Regions from separate parts of the Homo sapiens genome. Here region 1 is linked to region 2. The links are contacts of gene promoters, found by promoter capture Hi-C in blood cells and fetal thymus (Javierre and others, 2016). All regions are on one chromosome and are shown on one strand. Each heading gives the region's core, a stretch centred on a gene start or on the middle of the fragment in contact. The rest is flanking DNA. Distances are from core to core; before and after follow the strand shown.

What was found. The method cuts DNA at HindIII sites, captures the fragments that hold promoters and counts their contacts. A CHiCAGO score of 5 or more calls a contact.
Region 1: a contact is called between the fragment with the promoter of COX6C here and the fragment with the promoter of SLC25A32 in region 2, in 2 of 17 cell types (total B cells and monocytes). The highest score is 6.7, in total B cells.

What each region holds. Positions count from the first base shown.
Region 1 is chr8:99,892,257-99,894,956 of GRCh38, forward strand. It overlaps COX6C (cytochrome c oxidase subunit 6C), which reads right to left and starts at 1,451. Exons shown (of 4, transcript NM_004374.4): 1 at 1,383-1,451. RefSeq lists enhancers at 293-941, 942-1,589 and a silencer at 1,063-1,232. The HindIII fragment of the contact is 2,962 bases long and covers 1-2,449 here.
Region 2 is chr8:103,413,786-103,416,491 of GRCh38, forward strand. SLC25A32 (solute carrier family 25 member 32) reads right to left here and starts at 1,322. Exons shown (of 7, transcript NM_030780.5): 1 at 999-1,322. The coding sequence starts at 1,152. DCAF13 (DDB1 and CUL4 associated factor 13) reads left to right here and starts at 1,601. Exons shown (of 11, transcript NM_015420.7): 1 at 1,601-1,731. The coding sequence starts at 1,662. RefSeq lists enhancers at 988-1,609, 1,343-1,682. The HindIII fragment of the contact is 9,226 bases long and covers 1-2,706 here.

The sequences.
Region 1 (2,700 bases), core at 201-2,700, 3.5 Mb before region 2:
CATCCTACCTCGTCCTCCCAAAGTGCTGGGATTCCGGCCTACAAGTGAGTTAAGAAAAAATGAGAGGCAATTCCTAAACTGTTTATCAAAAATTTACATTAAAATAACATAAGCTATTGACTGACTAAACGCTGTCCTTTATATCACAAATTCAGGAATAAGATTTGGGTTGAGACATGGGTGAGGGGCGGCACTGAAGTCCAATACTCAGGTCTCTGCGTCCTGCATACCTCATGTAGCTCTCACTACTCTGAGCTTTTTTTCCCTTTCTCGGGTAAAATAATAAAAGAAAAACTCAGAAAAGATATCAAAAGGAATTCTCATGCATAGTACATTTTACTACCTAGAGAGGCACAGCACGACAGTGGATGGATTCCTCCCACAAAGCCTAAGCTGTCTCTTGGCTTAGCCTGTTTCATCTTCCCCCCGCCCCCCATATACTGAGCGACCACCCTAAATAAACGCGACAAACTGCGGCACACTAGTAATGGACGAGCAAAGGCAACAAAAATCTTTCCAACAACAAGAAAAATAAGCAGTAGCTCCGCATTGGTAATTAACGATTGCAAACCCATTTATGCAACACTTTCTCTTCTAAAAATTTTCTGTCCACTCGTTAAACCTTCGCGACAACCCTGTCAGATCATGAGGCAGGTGTTTTCCACGGTCACACGGTATACCATTAAAACCTGGACGGGAACGCGGCAAATACCATGAGGGCCCAAATTCCCTAACTGCTCCTTTGCCCAGCCTCACCTAAAGACCTAAGGGGCCTAAAAACTTTTGCGTCCCTGCTGGCCTTCAGCTAACGCGGCCGGGGGTAGGATGGGAAGCCGTGGGGCAAGGGAGGTTGCAGGAAGCCCATCCTTCCCCTCCTGCGGCAGGTACGGTGACCCTCCTCCAGTTTTCCAGCTCTAATTTAAAACGCTGCCACACAGCGAGCGACGCTGCCAGCTGCTTCGCCTACACTAACCCTTGCGCCTCACGACCAGCTGCATTAGAAACCACCACCCCTTTTCTCACGGGAGAAACACCGGGGCCAGATAGGTCAAATGACCTCACCAAGGTCACAATGGCTGTGAAAAAGCGCAGCGGGTACCAGCCCCGGGCCAGCTCACTCCGAAGCCAGCTGGGTTCTCGAGGGTCCCGCAGCCCACCCGGCTTCGGTGGGGCCGTCGCAACCCACCCCGGTCCGTGGTCCGCCCGCCGCCCTCCCTCAGGCCGCAGCGGAAGCGTGAGAGAGTAGATGCGGGAGAGGCCTGAAGCTGCACCACGGCGGAGACACACAGTCACGACTAAATCCGAGGCAGAGAGAAAGCGGGAGGGTGCCGTTGTGACAACCCGCAGTGTCGGGGTAGGGATGCAAAAGGGACCGGACTCACCTCAACACCAACGTCCTTCCTGACTAAAGGAAAAACGAACCGTGCTGTAGCCGCGCGCAGGCGCAGAATAAGAGTGCACAGCGAGAACGCGGCGACGGTAGCCGAAGGAGTTCAAAAGACCTCTAGTGCGCCCACCGCAGGTGACAGCCGAAGTTCATTTCGTGGTCTGCTTCTTTCCTGTGTGACCTTGCAAAACGGGCTTGACCTCCTTATTTATCGACCTCTTTATCTTCTTAGTAAATTGAAGATATTAGTCGTACTCATACACAGAGTCCCAAACCATGTGCACAAACCGACATTTTAATTATAACCAACCTTACGCGAATAACCGTTTGGCTTGGGTAAAAGTGAAAAAGCTGACTTCTAGGAGCTCACAGCCCAGAAGATGAAAAAGACAAACAGATTAATACCGATCCCATGCAGTGGGCACTACCACAGAGACGTGGCCCAGCTACTGCAGAAGCAATTCTCTACCTGGCAAAGCTGAGGACGTTTTGATAGAGGGGCGGTATTTTTGTGGGTTTCTTAAGAAAACAAGGATTTTGAAGGAAGGCAACTGGAAGTTCGTGGAAAGTGGTGTAGAAGGGTGAGGCTCTTGTGCCTTAATGATGCCAGGCTGTTTGTATTGAAATAACCTGAATTTTAAAAGCATTATTTAAGTCAACCCATCAAGCCCTGTGGAAGGTAGCTGGGACACAACAGATGCATGATATTGAGTCGATATATACACTGAGTACCTACTATGTGCCAGATTCTGCTAAACAAGAGGACAGATCTTCGGGGAGTCTCATTCTGATCAGGGAGTCTTTGTCCTCAACCTATTAACCAACACTCTGGAGGGTGAAACCTGGCCACAAAGAAAGGTGCTCAATTGAGGTTCAAAAGTAGGTTTGGACTTTACCAACGTTTTTCAGGCCTCTTATCAAGGGTCTACCCAGCTGAAAATCTTTGCATGGAATTTGTCCAGAGAGTAATTTGTTTCTATTCTCTTTCCATCCCCACCCCCAGAGAAGAAGTGGTGAACTTAAGAGTTCACAGGGATTAGTGTATGTGAAACCATCAGGGAAAGCTTCAGACAATACGTGGAAGAGATGGAAGCAGAGCTGAGTTTCAGTCTAATGGAAAGCCTGGAAAACTGGAGAAATTGGAGAGAAAACATTGGCTGGGAGAACATGGCAAAGACAGGCACACTCAGGGCACAGAGCCTGACCTGAGTGAAATACTGAGTGTTTGTTCTGTGCTTCCCTAGCTATCCAGTGAACCATAGTGAATGACTGAGGGTGACACGTGAATAAAACCTGAGCGATAGATGAAGAGA
Region 2 (2,706 bases), core at 72-2,571:
GGGAAACCCCAAGCCCCAATCTTCCACTGAACCTTAAAGATACACATGGCCATCAGTAATGTAGAATTTTCTTAACGGTTTACCTGTATTTATATTTTGTTTTTGTATTTCTTGATTTTATGTTGTCTAGAATTACCTTTTATATGACTAAGTCTAACGCCTACAATTAAATTCTAAGTTCCCTGAAGGCAAGAACTTTATTAGATACTTCTGTAGCCCATACAGCAGTCTACAAATATTAAGAGAATATAAATCAAGTGAACTGAATTGCCTAATGCTAAAATAAACAACTTCTGTAGATTTAATTCTCAAGGCTGAACTTAACTTGTAATAACTTTATTTGGAAACTATTTTCTGCAATTTCAGTTATCAAAGATCATCTTTGAAACTCTTTCCAGACTTTAGTGTTGAGTTTAACTTCTAAAATGCTTTGTTAATTTCAACATACTCAATTCATCTAATACACTTAAAATAGTATTTCGATTCTAGCTATTTTTTCACAGAAACTTGTACCATTCTACAAATGCCAAAAAACAAACATTCAAGAGAATTCTATTCTAAATCTACTCCCAACCATTCGCTGAAGATTACGCCCTATCCCAATACTAGTCGAGCTGCCAAACCACGTGGGTATGCTAAGATTTCAAAGTTCCTCCAAGAGTGAATGATTTGCACGTGTGAGGACTAAACCTTAAAATGTGACAATCCCTTCTTTATTTTACAAATCAGGCTTTGAATCCCATCTTCTCTGCCAATGAGGATGTTTTTTCTCAGACTTCTCTACATACATGCCCCCTCTCTTAGTCTTGAGGAGCGGGGAAGATCGCAGGCCGACCCCTCCACCAAGCACCATTTCCTCAAATCTAGTTCAGGTTAGCCAACGCGGACAGCAACGCTCCCTTCAACGCTCCTCCTCCCCCTAGAACGGAAAAGACGGAGGAGATCCAGTTCGGGCTGACAGTGAGAGGATGCAGCCCGGTGTCTGGGCGGGCTCTTACCGGCGAAGCGGATCTTCACGAGGTCGAGCGGATGCAGCGCAAGGTTGGATAAGACGCCGCCGCTCACGCCCGCTATCAGGTTCTCATACCGGACGTGGCGGAATACCGTGCTCCACGCCGACGACCCGGACGCCGACTGGCCCTGGCCCGTCATAGGCTCGGGGCCCGTCGACACCACGGCGCCCAGGGCCGCGGAGGTGGGACGCGATGCAGTGGCCGCCACCGTGGCGACGGTCGCCCCTTGTGAGCGCAACCCCACCTCCGGGACCAACGAGAGGACTCTTATGCCCAAGGCGCGTGAGCGAAGCCGGAGACTCTAGTACTGAGGGGGCAAGAACGGGGCACAGACACTACGTCACGCCGGCGGAAAGCGCGATGGAGGGGAGGTCCCAGCCTCTCCCGAGTCTCCGCCCTGCCTCGCCCACAAATGCTCCAGCCCACGGACGCGGAAGCGACTGCACAGCTAAAGAACCGCCCCTTGCTAACGTTTGCCGGCAAAACTACGGAGCGGCGCAGGATCCAGTTGAGCCAGCAGGCCGCCGCTCCGCGAGTCACGTGACTGGAAGTAGTCTGGGAAAAGCGGAAGTCGCCTGTGGGAGGAGGTGGCGGTGGGCGGAACTCCTAGCGGACACCTCGTGGAGTCCGGCCGGAAGAGCAACCGAGATGAAGGTGAAGATGCTGAGCCGGAATCCGGACAATTATGTCCGCGAAACCAAGTTGGACTTACAGAGAGGTAAGATAAGTTGGTAGGGAGAAAGGGACGGTTTCCGCAAGTCGTTGGGTCTAGCCTCGGCTTTCGCGGAGTAAAGCCGGGGGAGGCTGGCACTCTGGTCTGGTTCTTTCTCAGTTACCTTTCGCTAAGGCAAACTTTGTGCTTACGGAGTCGCTGCGGAACTGGATGGATAGCAAGTAAAGTCTGTTCAAGTCCTTTTTCTAAGAATTTCCTCTAGTGGTGAGTGGGAAACAGTTGTCTATAGTGGAGAAAAATTCCAGCTGCTGCTCTGGGATTGTCTTCAGGTTCCTATTACTGAAAAGTGGACTTGAATGAGCCAAACTCGTGGGTTGAAGGGCTGAGAGTTAAACAGGCTTTTAAAACCTTCCTACTGCTCTTCTTGCCGCTTTACTACTTCACATTAGTTGTGGATGTTGGAAGAGACAAAGATGAATTTAAAAGCATCAGTTTTCTCTTACCATCCCTTAAGAAGTTTGATGAAAGAATGGTTAAATGAAATTAATTTATCCTTCCTGGTCTGTTCCCCCGTTAACATGCTAACCACTTATAAATTGTACTTTGTGATACCTAAATGACAAGGGACCAACCATGCGTAAGCAGATTGTTCTAAATAAAGAGAATAACAGGAGCAAAGGTCTTCAGGCAGGAATGAACCTAAGGCATAGAAAGAAGGGCTGTGTCATTAGTTTGAATGAGGAGTAAGCGAGATGAGATGAGGCGAAAACAGTATTTCACTATTTTGGTTGAGTAGGAGATATTATCAACATGTGTGTGAGCATTGCTAATAAGTCTCTGCTCAAAAGATGTTTACAGTTTGTCACAAGGCAGTAATGTTTCTAAAATATAAATTAGATTTGTCACTTGGATTTGGCATCGTTCCCAGTCCTTGAATCTCTGGTCCCACCTTCCTTGCCACTTTAGTCAGTCACTACGTTTCCCACAAGTGGTTTAGTATTCACCCTTGCAAATCTCAGT